Regions from separate parts of the Homo sapiens genome. Here regions 1, 2 and 3 are each linked to region 4. Evidence: promoter capture Hi-C in 16 types of primary human blood cells and fetal thymus (Javierre and others, 2016). All regions are on one chromosome and are shown on one strand. The core of a region is centred on a gene start or on the middle of the fragment in contact, and the rest is flanking DNA. Distances in the headings are between cores, read along the strand shown. Region 1 overlaps LOC101927702 (a long non-coding RNA gene). Region 2 overlaps DHRS7 (dehydrogenase/reductase 7). Region 3 has its middle 14 kb from the start of DHRS7. Region 4 holds the start of L3HYPDH (trans-L-3-hydroxyproline dehydratase).

The links. Contacts are between HindIII fragments. The CHiCAGO score rates a contact against its expected background, and 5 or more counts as called.
Region 1: a contact is called between a fragment that was not itself captured here and the fragment with the promoter of L3HYPDH in region 4, in 1 of 17 cell types (neutrophils). The highest score is 7.1, in neutrophils.
Region 2: a contact is called between a fragment that was not itself captured here and the fragment with the promoter of L3HYPDH in region 4, in 2 of 17 cell types (neutrophils and naive CD8 T cells). The highest score is 12.6, in neutrophils.
Region 3: a contact is called between a fragment that was not itself captured here and the fragment with the promoter of L3HYPDH in region 4, in 2 of 17 cell types (neutrophils and naive B cells). The highest score is 5.9, in neutrophils.

The regions. Positions count from the first base shown.
Region 1 is chr14:60,241,819-60,245,052 of GRCh38, reverse strand. It overlaps LOC101927702 (a long non-coding RNA gene), which reads left to right. Exons shown (of 3, transcript NR_188027.1): 2 at 2,183-2,290. Among named protein-coding and RNA genes, the nearest start is that of PPM1A, 5.8 kb to the left of the region's middle. The HindIII fragment of the contact is 1,443 bases long and covers 546-1,988 here.
Region 2 is chr14:60,155,329-60,158,492 of GRCh38, reverse strand. It overlaps DHRS7 (dehydrogenase/reductase 7), which reads left to right. Exons shown (of 7, transcript NM_016029.4): 2 at 2,341-2,493. Among named protein-coding and RNA genes, the nearest start is that of DHRS7, 8.5 kb to the left of the region's middle. The HindIII fragment of the contact is 4,388 bases long and covers 1-3,164 here.
Region 3 is chr14:60,178,009-60,180,823 of GRCh38, reverse strand. It overlaps the pseudogene PSMA3P1. Among named protein-coding and RNA genes, the nearest start is that of DHRS7, 14 kb to the right of the region's middle. The HindIII fragment of the contact is 694 bases long and covers 1,034-1,727 here.
Region 4 is chr14:59,482,997-59,485,834 of GRCh38, reverse strand. L3HYPDH (trans-L-3-hydroxyproline dehydratase) reads left to right here and starts at 1,427. Exons shown (of 5, transcript NM_144581.2): 1 at 1,427-2,026. The coding sequence starts at 1,519. It overlaps JKAMP (JNK1/MAPK8 associated membrane protein), which reads right to left and starts at 1,318. Exons shown (of 7, transcript NM_016475.5): 1 at 1,242-1,318. The coding sequence starts at 1,245. RefSeq lists an enhancer at 1,073-1,352. The HindIII fragment of the contact is 9,651 bases long and covers 1-2,838 here.

The sequences.
Region 1 (3,234 bases), core at 18-2,517, 760 kb before region 4:
TAAGTTTCGAGAGTGTTTCAACGTGGACATTAGGGATATTTAATTTATAATCAGGAAACTACATTATGTGCACGGGTATAATCCATAGAAAATAACTTGGTGAGTTGGTCTGGTGCAAAAAGCAAAGCAACTTTTTTAAAAATTGAAATTAAAAATAGTCTGGGTGCAGTGGCTCACACCTGTAATCCCAGCACTTTGGAAGGCCAAAGCGAGTGGATCACTTGAGGCCAGGAGTTCAAGACCAGCCTGGCCAACATGGGGAAACCCCGTCTCTACTGAAAATACAAAATTAGCCACACCTGGTGGCACACGCCTGTAATCCCAGCTACTTGGGAAGCTGAGGCAGGAGAATCGCAGGCAGGAGAATCACTGGAACTCAGGAGGTGGAGGTTGCAGTGGGCCGAGATCATGCCCCTGCACCCTAGCCTGCATGACAGAAAAAAAAACACCTTTATTCAACTATTGAAATTGAGAAGTATTCCATAACTCCAGGAAAGACCCGTCAGACAATCCAGCAGCAGCTAGAAAAGAGTGAATTATAAGCTTCAAATAAATAGTTTTCATCCCAATATAGGTACCTATTTGTGCTAAGTAAAGACTAGCACAGATTTGAGTGGGCTTCTTCAGAACAATTCTTCTGGGTGTTTACTGTCTATCCTGGGCATTACAGAAGATCTCAAACTAAACCATACTTTTGAAAGCAGCGACACACTGCATCCTTAACAATGGTGGCCTGGTTGAAAACAGTAATGAAATTGTCATCATCATAAAGCCTTTTATCTGAACCTGACTCTGCAGTTTACAAAGCACTATCATACAGACTAACCAGTTTAATCCTCTCAAAAACCCTTGCAGGTAGACAGGGCAAGGACTCTTAATCTCCTCCTTTATAGAAGAGAAAACTAAGCATCTGGTAGTAACTACCCAGGGTCACAGAAATTAATGACGGGTACCCAGGTTTGTCCCCCGTACGATACTGAGCATCATTGCTTTTACATGCTGGTAGTAAAGGCAGCAGGAGTGGAAAGAGTGCTGAACTTAGTTCCAGTCCGTGGTGTGGAGAGCTGGCCTATACTGGCTCATGACAGCAGATTATTAAATTTTCAGAAATTTTGCCTGCTGTTTGTTAAATACTCATTATTAAAAATTAAATGATATAGGCTGGGTGCAGTGTCTCATGCCTATATTCCCAGCACTTTGGGAGGCTGAGGTGGGTGGATCACCTGAGATCAGGAGTTTGAGATCAGCCTGGCCAACATGGTGAAACCCCGTCTCTACTAAAAATACAAAAATTAGCCAGGTGTGGTGTCGGGAGCCTGTAATCCTAGCTACTTGGGAGGCTGAGGCAGGAGAATTGCTTGAACCCAGGAGGCAGAGGTTGCAGTGAGCTGAGATTGCGCCATTGCACTCCAGCCTGGGTGACAAGGTGAGACTCCATCTCAAAAATCAATCAATAAATAAATATAAAAATAGAAATAAAAATTAAGTTAGATAAACTTCCAATGAAATAAATTTTAAACAAAGGTAGTATGTGATAAAAACATCACTTCCAAATTATGTTAATACATTTTAATATTGTCTTTGTTCTTTAGGCAATTTACATGCATTGTGTCTGCATGGTGGAAATTCCCTATATGTAATTGTACATCTCTTCCCAATACCACATTTAGTGAGTTTTCTTTGGTAGCTTGATCAGCGGACACCACAGATGAGGGCTTCACTTATTGCTTTGCTGGTTGTGGGCTAGACCAGGGTTGTCCAATCTTTTGCTTCCCTCGGCCACATTGGCAGAAGAAAAATAGTCTTGGGCCACACATAAAATACGCTAACACTAATGATAGCTGATGAGCTAATACAAAACAAAACGAAACAAAATCACACACACACACAAAATCTCACATTTTAAGAAAGTTTACGAATTTGTGTTGGGCTGCATTCAAAGCCATCCTGGGCTGTATGCGGCCCACAGGCCCAGGGTTGGACAAGCTTGGTCTAGGCTTAAGTGACAGAGAAAATGTTTTATGCAGATTAAATGTAAAAGACATGTCGTGTCTATAACTGTTACATGGTGAATAGCATAAAAACATTCAATTTAGCAATGAAGTCACATCATTGACTAATAAGCTCTAACATACATTTTTGTTGTTTTATTTTTATCTTAAATGAAAATATTAACCAATAGCCATGTTGGAACTACATTTGGAAAGGTGGTTGTTAAACATTTCCCAGCACACACCTGGATCTGCATCTGCTGTGTCAATTGAACCACTCACTGGTTCTGTGACCTCAGGCAAGTCATTTAAATTATAAGCCTTGGTTTTATCCTCCACAGAATACTTCCTCCTAAAATGTGTTGTGAAAATTAGAATAGATGAAGGCACCCTTGAAAAGATGACTGATGCGGTTGGTTGCCCCACCACTTCCTACTACTTGGCAGAGCCTCCTCGTTGGCAGATCCTTCTCTCACTAGAGCATGTATATGGATGCATGCTCTCTCACCCTCCCTTGTAGCTTAGAGCAGAGCATACCAATCTATGTGCCAGCATACCCTGGTATGTCTCAGATGGGTCATAGATGTGATAAGGTATGGATCCCTTAAGCCCTTGGGACATTCAAGTGAGGCTGAGCTGCTGAAGCCCTGGGATGGTATGACTGGCCACAAGCAACATTACCCAGGTACCCCTCTGTGTCACAAAAACGTTATCTTTGTATTTGTGTCATGGTGTGAAAAAATTGAGAAGCACTGCCTGGGGACATAGTGAGGTAGCCCAATTCTGGATAAAGGAAATTGAGAAGTCTTGAGGGGGTAGAGAGGTTTTCTTCCCTAATAAGAAGAATCACAGGAGAGAAAATGCCTTCCTCAGCCATATGTTGTTATTTCTATATGTGAGCCTGGAATTTCAAGGTTATCTTGCAAAGAACCAAGGCAATGTAGAGAAAAGAATTGATAGCAAGTGGCTGGATCTTTCACATTGTAAAGCCATTGAGCCATCCGTGCAATTGCCCACCTTGGGAATTTATTTTTAAGAGTGATAATAAATGCTCCTCATTGTTTAAACTACTTTGATTTTTGTATTTGGTTATTCATAATTAAAAACACCCAAATACAGTAGAAGAACTGGTACATCCCTGACACCTAATGAGTGCTCAATATGGTTAGTTAATCACCAAATTAGATCCTTTGCCTTTAGAAAAGCTGCCATGGTCAAATGTGTGTTGATCTTATTTTTCGTA
Region 2 (3,164 bases), core at 552-3,051, 670 kb before region 4:
AAATCCTGTGTTTCTAAAACAAATGATATTCACTCTAGAGTGTGATGATTGCAGAACTTGGGAACAACAAGTAGTCAATGAATGAATAAATGATTATCTGAATAGATGTTATGTTGTTCTTGATAAAGTCCTATAGGAAGGTGGCCCAATTGTGCCTTTTCACAAAAGTACGTTATATGACAGGAAAGCATTGTAGCCCAGACATAGTATTTGGGATGTTTCCATCCTTAGTTGAGATTTTTTTTTTTTTTTTTTTTTTTCCGACAGAGTCTCACTCTGTCACCCATGCTGGAGTGCAGTGGAGCAATCTTGGCTCACTGCAACCTCTGCCTCCCAGGTTCAAGCAATTCTTGCACCTCAGCCTCCTGAGTAGTTGGGGTTACAACGATGCGCCACCACACCTGGCTAATTTTTGTATTTTTCATAGAGAACAGGTTCCATCATGTTGGCCAGGCTGGTCTCGAACTCCTGGCCTCAAGTGATCTGCCCGCCTTGGCCTCCCAAAGTGCTGGGATTACAGATGTGAGCCACCGTACCTGGCCTTAGTTGAGATATTTACATGGAACCTTTTTCTTAAGGACAAGTGGTATTTTCTTGAATGTCTAAGAAACAGTTGGGTTTTAAAATATTGATCATATGTAAATGTGTATATCATGAAATAGTGGACAGTGTGGGCTTTGGAGCTAGATATACCTGGGCTTATATCCCGGCTCTGCCAGGGTTCTTGGGTGTTTATTCAGTAGTTATTTATGGAGCCTTTTCAATATTCCAGTCTTTGCTAAGCACTGAGGCCACAGCAATGAACAAGGTAGACAGGGTCCTACCCTTAATGGAATCTATGGTCTAGTGGGACAAATTAATCTCTGTAAACCTCAGTTACCTTTTCTGTAAAACTGAGATAATAATACCTTTCCATACAGTTCTGGTGAGGCTTTTAGTAGACAATGTGCTAAGTACATAGGAAGTAATGTAAAAACGTTAAGCCATTAGAATTGGTAACTCTGTTTTCCTGGCTGGAGAAGTTAGGAGACATACGTTATTAAGTGACTGTTCTATGTTTTGCTGTAGTAAAGTCCATCTGTTAAAAAACTTGAGCAATAATTATAATTGACGTTTATTAAACACTGAGTATGTACTAGATACTGCCCTGAGTGCTTTCCATGTTTTAACTCATTTCTCAACAATCCTGTGAAGGATGTGTTCTTATTCATCACATTTCCAGTTGTGGAAAATTAAGGCACCAAGTTCTCACCTGGGAGCATTTCAGTGCTGTGTGTGATGGAGCTGGCATTTGAACCCTGGCAGTCTCCAGGGATGGTACTGTTAACATCACAGTTAGGATTTAGAGCTGTTTAAAACAGTACAATCATTTCCTGATTTTAACTTTTCTGATCTAAAATCGGAAATGTGATGTTAAGTGATACGATATTTGATATTTTTGATAAATAACATATATTTTAGTAAATAAGTCACCCAGGAACTTTGCATAACAGTGACTTTACGGGTTCAGAGAGACAGTGAATATCATCTCCTGAAGTGCTAATAAGTTTTTCATTGGAGAAAAGAATAAACCATTTGTCATTGCTTTAGTACTGTAACATTTGTAGTCTTTTAAGAGGAACATAATTGGAGAAGCAGAGTACAATATTTCATCTCTCTGTAATATGCATTTGTTCTTGGGTGAATTACTATATTCTCCTAAGATGAAAGCTCAGGCATCTGGGGAACATTTTTACAAAATGACCTTGAGCTGATAGGCATCAGGCATTATTGGCAAATGGGGAAAATACTACTTTAAAAATCTAGGATGTTTCCATCAACAGCACAGAACTTGGTATATTTAGATTCTTCATCAACCTCCATTGCAAAATATTAGAATAATAGAATTAAAAACTGGATGTGACCTTCAGCCATCATCTAATCTGAATGCCTCATTTAATGGCTAAGGAAAAGTGAGTCCAGACAGTGATTTTTGTATTTACTTAGCCTGTTTATCTTATCTATCATATTTATCTTACCTGTTTGTGTTAAATAGAGCCTTAGAGTGAAACCATGAGGTTATAAGGCTTACCTTGAAGTAAAGTCTGGAAAAGTCATGAAGGTTCTGTAATATACAAATACTGTGTTGATAACTGTTACTAGTATGATTTGTATTAATGCTTTTTTTTTTTTTTAGTTAAGAAGGAGATGCTTTCTTAGAATATTTCAAATTTTAACTCTATACATCATGCCTTCATATTTAGTGGTATTGTTTAAGGCTTTCTTTTTTTTTTCTAATCTTGGATTTATGAGCGTAATTCATTGCTTATTTTCTTCCTTCCATTTACATTCCTTCCATAGAATGGGAGCTGACTGATATGGTGGTGTGGGTGACTGGAGCCTCGAGTGGAATTGGTGAGGAGCTGGCTTACCAGTTGTCTAAACTAGGAGTTTCTCTTGTGCTGTCAGCCAGAAGAGTGCATGAGCTGGAAAGGGTGAAAAGAAGATGCCTAGGTAAGCGGATCTGAAATAGCAGCGGTGCTTCCTAGAAATAAATCAGTCCAAACTCAAATACAGTTTTGGGACTTTTAGAGAGGAGTGAGATTTCCCCCCGGCTCCAAATGTTCTACATGCTTCATCTCAGTTCCTCTCCTTTTTGCCTTAATTGGCTGCCCTCGCCTTTTTCTTCTTTTCTGCCACCTTTCTATGCTTTTTTTGCACTGACTCTTGGCATTAGGGAGTGACCAACAATTATATAAAATGCTGGTGGATTTTTAGTGACCAAGTATCTTAGATTTTTGTCTTAGAGAAAAAACAGTTGGGTTCTTATCCATGACATACATGTATCTGATCATAGAAATTAGGAAGAATCCTTACTCATTTTATTAAAGTATCAGATATTAAAATCATATGGGATAAGACTTATTATATAGGATAAAAGAACAGGAATGGAATTAGCTTTAAAAAATACAACTTGAGGTAATACTTTCATATTCACATAAAGGGCAACAGTGTTAATATTTTTGTTTGAATTTTGGTGTAGTTATGTTTACTTTTTTCTTTTTGAGATGAAGTCTCACTTTGTTGCCCAGGCTGGAGTACAATGGTGTGATCTTGGCTCATTGCAACTTCCGCCTCACAGGTTCAAGCGATTCTTGTACCTCAGCCTCCTGAGTAGCTGGGGC
Region 3 (2,815 bases), core at 131-2,630, 700 kb before region 4:
CACAGACATTGGACTACCTAGTCAAACTGTCTTAAATATGCACAAAGAGCTAAAGGAAACCATGGAGAAAGTGTGAGAGAAAATCAGGGAAATGATAAATGAATAGAAAATATCAATAAAAAATAGAAATTATAAAAAGAAACCAGACAGAAATTCTCGACCTGAAAAGTAGAGTAACTGAAATAAAAATTTCTCTAGAGAATTTTAATAGCATATTTGAGCAGGATGATAGAAAGAATTAGCAAACATAAAGATAGGTCCTTTGAAATTATTCAGTCAAGGAATGCAGAAAAACAAACAGTGCCTGAGAGACCTATGGGATGCCATTAAGCAAACCAAATACACATATTGGGAATCCCAGTAGGAGAGGACAGGACAAAGTGGTCAGAAAAAAATATTTGAACAAATAATGGCTTAAAATTTCCTGAATTTGATTTTTAAAAATTAAAACATGAATTTAAGCATTTAAGGAGCTCAATTAACTCCAAGAAGGATAAATGCAAAAGGAATCATGCCAGGACACATAATCAAATTATCAAAAGACAAAGATGGAGAAGCAACTCATCATGTACAAGTGATCTTTAATAAGACTGATGGCGGGTTCCTCATTAGAAATCATGGAGGCCAGAAAGTAGTGGGGTAATATTTTTAATTTTTAAAATTATCTTGTTGTTGTTTCTGTTTTGTCTTTTACAAGATGAAAATTTAATAAAAAATTGGTCAGTGGGTATGTGTAATCCACAGGGCTATATAGTTACGCGGGATTGTAATAGGAATTTAACATAGAATAGATACTGGAGTAAATTTTACATATTATCATCATCTGACCTGTCTTCTTCACTCAAGGATTCTTTAGCATATTTATCTGCTTATTCCCTTATATCTTTTGAAACAATTTCATGTCTTCCTTTAGTTAAACCACTAACCCAGCTGAGTTCGTAAACTTTATCCTTAGCGTCATCATGTACTATGTAAATTACTTGAGCAACTTCTGTAACAGTATCATAGCAGGTCATTTCTTTCATCTGAAGCTTTTCTATTTCTGTTTTACAGCTTGCCTGGCTTTGCCAGTGGCACAGGCCCAATAACCATATAAAACACCTGATGAGTCAATCATGGAAAATTGTGCACTGTCATTCATACTGTAAGACCCTAACATGAAACTGAAGGCAAAAGATCTAACAGCACTGTAGAGTGTATATGCATGTACATACATGTCCACTCTGTTTGCAAGATGTTTTAGTGGAGTGTTATAACCAAAGTCAGATTTAAAGTTGGAAACTTCTTCTCTTGCTATGTCTGCTAAAGAACAAGCATCTGCCTACAAACCTGCTGCCAGCATTCCAACATTCCGATCCAATGTGCTGATCAACATTAATAAGTCGTTTGTTGGAAACTCCTTCATAAAGTTTAGAAAGCACTAATTTTTTAGACCCCAAAGACATTGCTATGTTTATATATGATTTCAATCACTGTACGATTTCCCACAGCCTTCATAGCCCCATTTATATTTCTTATAGATGAAACAAATATGACAAATTGCTAATAGTTAGTGGGTATATGGATGATCATGTACTATTCTTTTAACTTTTGTATATTTGGAAAGTTTTGTAGTAAAAAATGGAGGGTAAAAGAAACAGAATATTCTTCACCTAAAGATTCTGCCTATCTATCTATCTATAAAAAACTTCAGCAAACATAATCCTAAATCAGAAAAATTTTAAGCTTTCCTAATAAAGTTAGGGACTAGGCAATGTTACCCATTTTATCACTTCAAGTCAACACTGTATTAGAAATTCCTGACAGTGCAAAAAAAAAAAAAAGAAATCAAGACATAAGTATTGGAAAAAGAAATTAGACTATCATTATATTATTAATAATAGGTTTAATTACATAGAAAACATATAGAATTTAAAAATAGGATAATTTAGCACAGTGCCTTGTTATCGAAGCAATTTATAATAGTTAATTTCATATTCATATACCAGCAGCAAGTAACTAGAAAACACAATTTAAAAGAACACAAAATTTGAAATAGCATGAAGTAATACGGAGTACAAAGGAACAAACACAGCCATGTGTTGCTTAATGATGAGAATACTTTCTGAGAAATGGGTTGTTAGGCGATTCTGTCATTATATCAACATCGTAGAGTGTACTTAAACAAACCTAGATGGTATAGCTTACTACACACCTAGGATAGATACTATACCCTAGGCTACAAACCTGTATAGCATGTTACTGTACTGAATACTGTAGGCAATTAAAACACAATGGTAAGTATTTGCATATCTAAACAAACCTAAATATACTCTTAATTCGGCAATTTTACTCTTAGGAATTCATCTCATAGAAATAACAGCATCAGTATATAAGGAACACAGATACACATGGATATAAACCATTGGTTGTAGTTATTTAATACAAAAAGGAAACAGTTTTAATGCCCATCAGTAATGGATATGATTGAATAATTGTGGTATATCTATTCAATGGAATAGTAGACAGTGATTAAAAAGAAAGTGTCAAATCTACTAAATCTATCTGGAGGGATGTTCATGATATTGGTAAACTGGAAAAGCAAGTCTCAGTGTGAAGTGTATAATACAATACTGTTTTTATAAGTTCAAGCAAAAAACCATAGGGATATTGCTGATATTTGATCATTTTTAAATGAAATGAAAATGGAAATTACATAAAATTAATTATAATATTTGGGAATGTTTATATGAGAAAGGGAATGTTGTAGGAAGGCTCATCCCAGGCTCTGAGCTATGGTTAGCCTACTGTGGTAGGTGAGAGTTCACACAGGGAA
Region 4 (2,838 bases), core at 178-2,677:
ACCAGCCTGGCCAAAATGGTGAAACCCCGTCTCTACTAAAAATACAAAAATTAGCCTGACGTGGTGGCGCGCGCCTGTAGTCCCAGCTACTGGGGAGGCTGAGGCAGGAGAATCGCTTGAACCCAGGAGGCAGAGGTTGCAGTGAGCCGAGATCGCGCCACTGCACTCCAGCCTGGGCTACAGAAGGAGACTCCGTCTCAAAACAAACTGCGGTCTACATGTGAATTAATTTGAAAAATTATGCATCTTTTGACTATTCTTGAACAATCATTTCCCAAATTATTCACGAATTCACAATCTAGACTGCCTGGTCTACAGTGCCTTCTCTCCTTTCACATTCAAGCAGACTTTTTACTTCCTTCTCCTTATGCTGCTGAGAGAAAAAGAGAAACAGCATTGAATAATATTCCTCCAGTTTAATATTTTCGCTTTTAACAAATTTCGGACTTAGCTTTTTAAACCCACTGGCCTCTTTAATGGGCGCTTATTTTTTTTGTAACCAATTGTAATCACAATGTTCTAAATTAATACATGAAAATGAATATTTCAGGTTTTTCAAGAATGCAGAAGGTAAGGAATTGGAAACTTCTGTATGGGCTTTACATCTAGTAGATGCTTAATAAATACACGTGAATATCAATAATCTAAAGTTTCTCAAAATCCAAGGCCTGAAAACCAGTATGATAAACTGAACTGAAATAAACAGCCTATCACTTACTAAGCAAAACCCAGGCTCCAAGCGACTGTTGAATTTCTCCTTTCATTTCCTTTAGCGAACGATGGCTAAAGTTTTAAGATTCCATTTTTTTGCAGCGGTCCTGCCCTTTGTGACGGGCGCTATAAATCTACGTTTGAGGTTGAAGCAGTAGACAAATTATGCAGCAACTTGCTTCTGCTTTACTGTTTTTTCTGCACTATCACCCGCGTTTTCAATTCCGAAGTCAACCCTCAAGCAAGTGTTCCCTCGACATTAAACTAAGGGACTGAAGAGACATTTCGGACCAAACAACAAAGACCTGGCATTTCGCCGCAGACAGCGCGCCTCCCCTAGTAGCCCGTTGCGGACAGACCACCCCAACCCCGCAGGAGTGCGGAGCCCGGCCCGAGGGCGGGCGGGGTCAAGGGGCGAGCCTGCGCCGCCAACCGAAGGCCGCCTACAAAGAGCCGAGCCCGAGGCCAGCCGTGTAGGAAAGTAGTCGGGACTACCAGAAACGCTTCCCGGGATCTTGGCGACCACTCACCCATGGGCCGCCTGAAGGTTTTTTTCGAGAAGCACTAGATCAGCGGATCTGGCAGCTGCACCGAACATCCGGGCCACAGCGAGCTCGGCGGCTCCGCCTCCCGGTAACCCGGGCGACAGCTCCGAAGTTCCTCCCTCGCTTCCGGGTTTAGGCTCCGAGACCCCGCCCCCCGGACGTGGCTGGTTAGCGTCCCGCCCTCCTCCCGCGGAGTCAGTGGGTGAGGGTCGGGCTTGAAGCCATAGCTGCGGGACCGTACTCGTCTCCCCCGACGCAGACCATGGAGAGCGCGCTGGCGGTGCCCCGGCTGCCCCCGCATGATCCAGGGACGCCGGTGCTGTCGGTGGTGGACATGCACACGGGCGGCGAGCCCTTGCGTATCGTGCTGGCGGGGTGTCCGGAGGTGTCTGGGCCCACCCTGCTGGCCAAGCGGCGCTACATGCGCCAGCACCTTGACCACGTGCGGCGACGGCTCATGTTCGAGCCCCGAGGGCACCGGGACATGTACGGGGCGGTCCTAGTCCCGAGCGAGCTGCCGGACGCGCATCTGGGCGTCCTGTTCCTGCACAACGAGGGCTACAGCTCCATGTGCGGCCACGCAGTGCTGGCGCTGGGCCGCTTCGCTTTGGACTTCGGGCTTGTGCCGGCGCCCCCTGCGGGCACCCGCGAGGCCCGCGTCAATATCCACTGCCCCTGCGGGCTGGTGACCGCCTTCGTGGCATGCGAGGACGGCCGCAGCCACGGACCGGTGCGCTTCCACAGCGTCCCGGCCTTCGTGCTGGCCACAGGTAATGGGCGGGACCTTTCCAGCCCAGGGCAGAGCTGCAACCGGGACGCGACTAACTACATTAACGGTTTTTCTGGGCTGGAACTCTGGCAACTAACCTACTCCGCGAAACCTTGCAATTAATAGAAAGGTAAATCACTGCCAACGTGTGTCAGCAGCCTTGCGTATTTGGTGCGTGTAATTTCGATTTTCCCTGACTCCCATCCGCCTGTGGTTTTGGGAGACCCTTGAGGAGCGAGGAATTGCGTGTTACCCTGACTCAGCGCCTCCCTCTGCACTGGTGAGGCATTCCTAGAGATTTCACCGGTGGATAAAGCAAGGTACGGTGGGGTCAAGGAAAGAGCGAAGAACAGCCAATGTACCAGGGTTCCAGGCTGGCTGAGAATATGCTTGGTAGACACAGAATCACACTTAATAAGTTACTAAACCTGGTCTCCTTTCCTCACCTCCCCCACTTCTTTGAAGAATTAAATGAGAATGAATGAACAAAGCAGTTTATAAATCATTAAGATACGAATGTTGCTTTTCTTTAAGAACAGGAACACACATTGCCTGGTTTCAAATCCTGATAACCCCCTAAAGCTGTGCAACCTTAGGCAAATTACTTAATCTCTCTGTGCCTGTGTTTCTTCTTTTCCCTCATAGAGTTTTTTTGTTAGGATTAAATGAGAGTATGCAAGATACTGTATTCCTGGAGATAGATTGCAAGGTTTATATGATCGCTAAAGTTCCCTAGGCCTATTGAGCCATTAAAAGGTTTTGCTGGATTCTCTAGTACAGATCCTTGTACAGCTTATCATGTAAAGCAGGGCA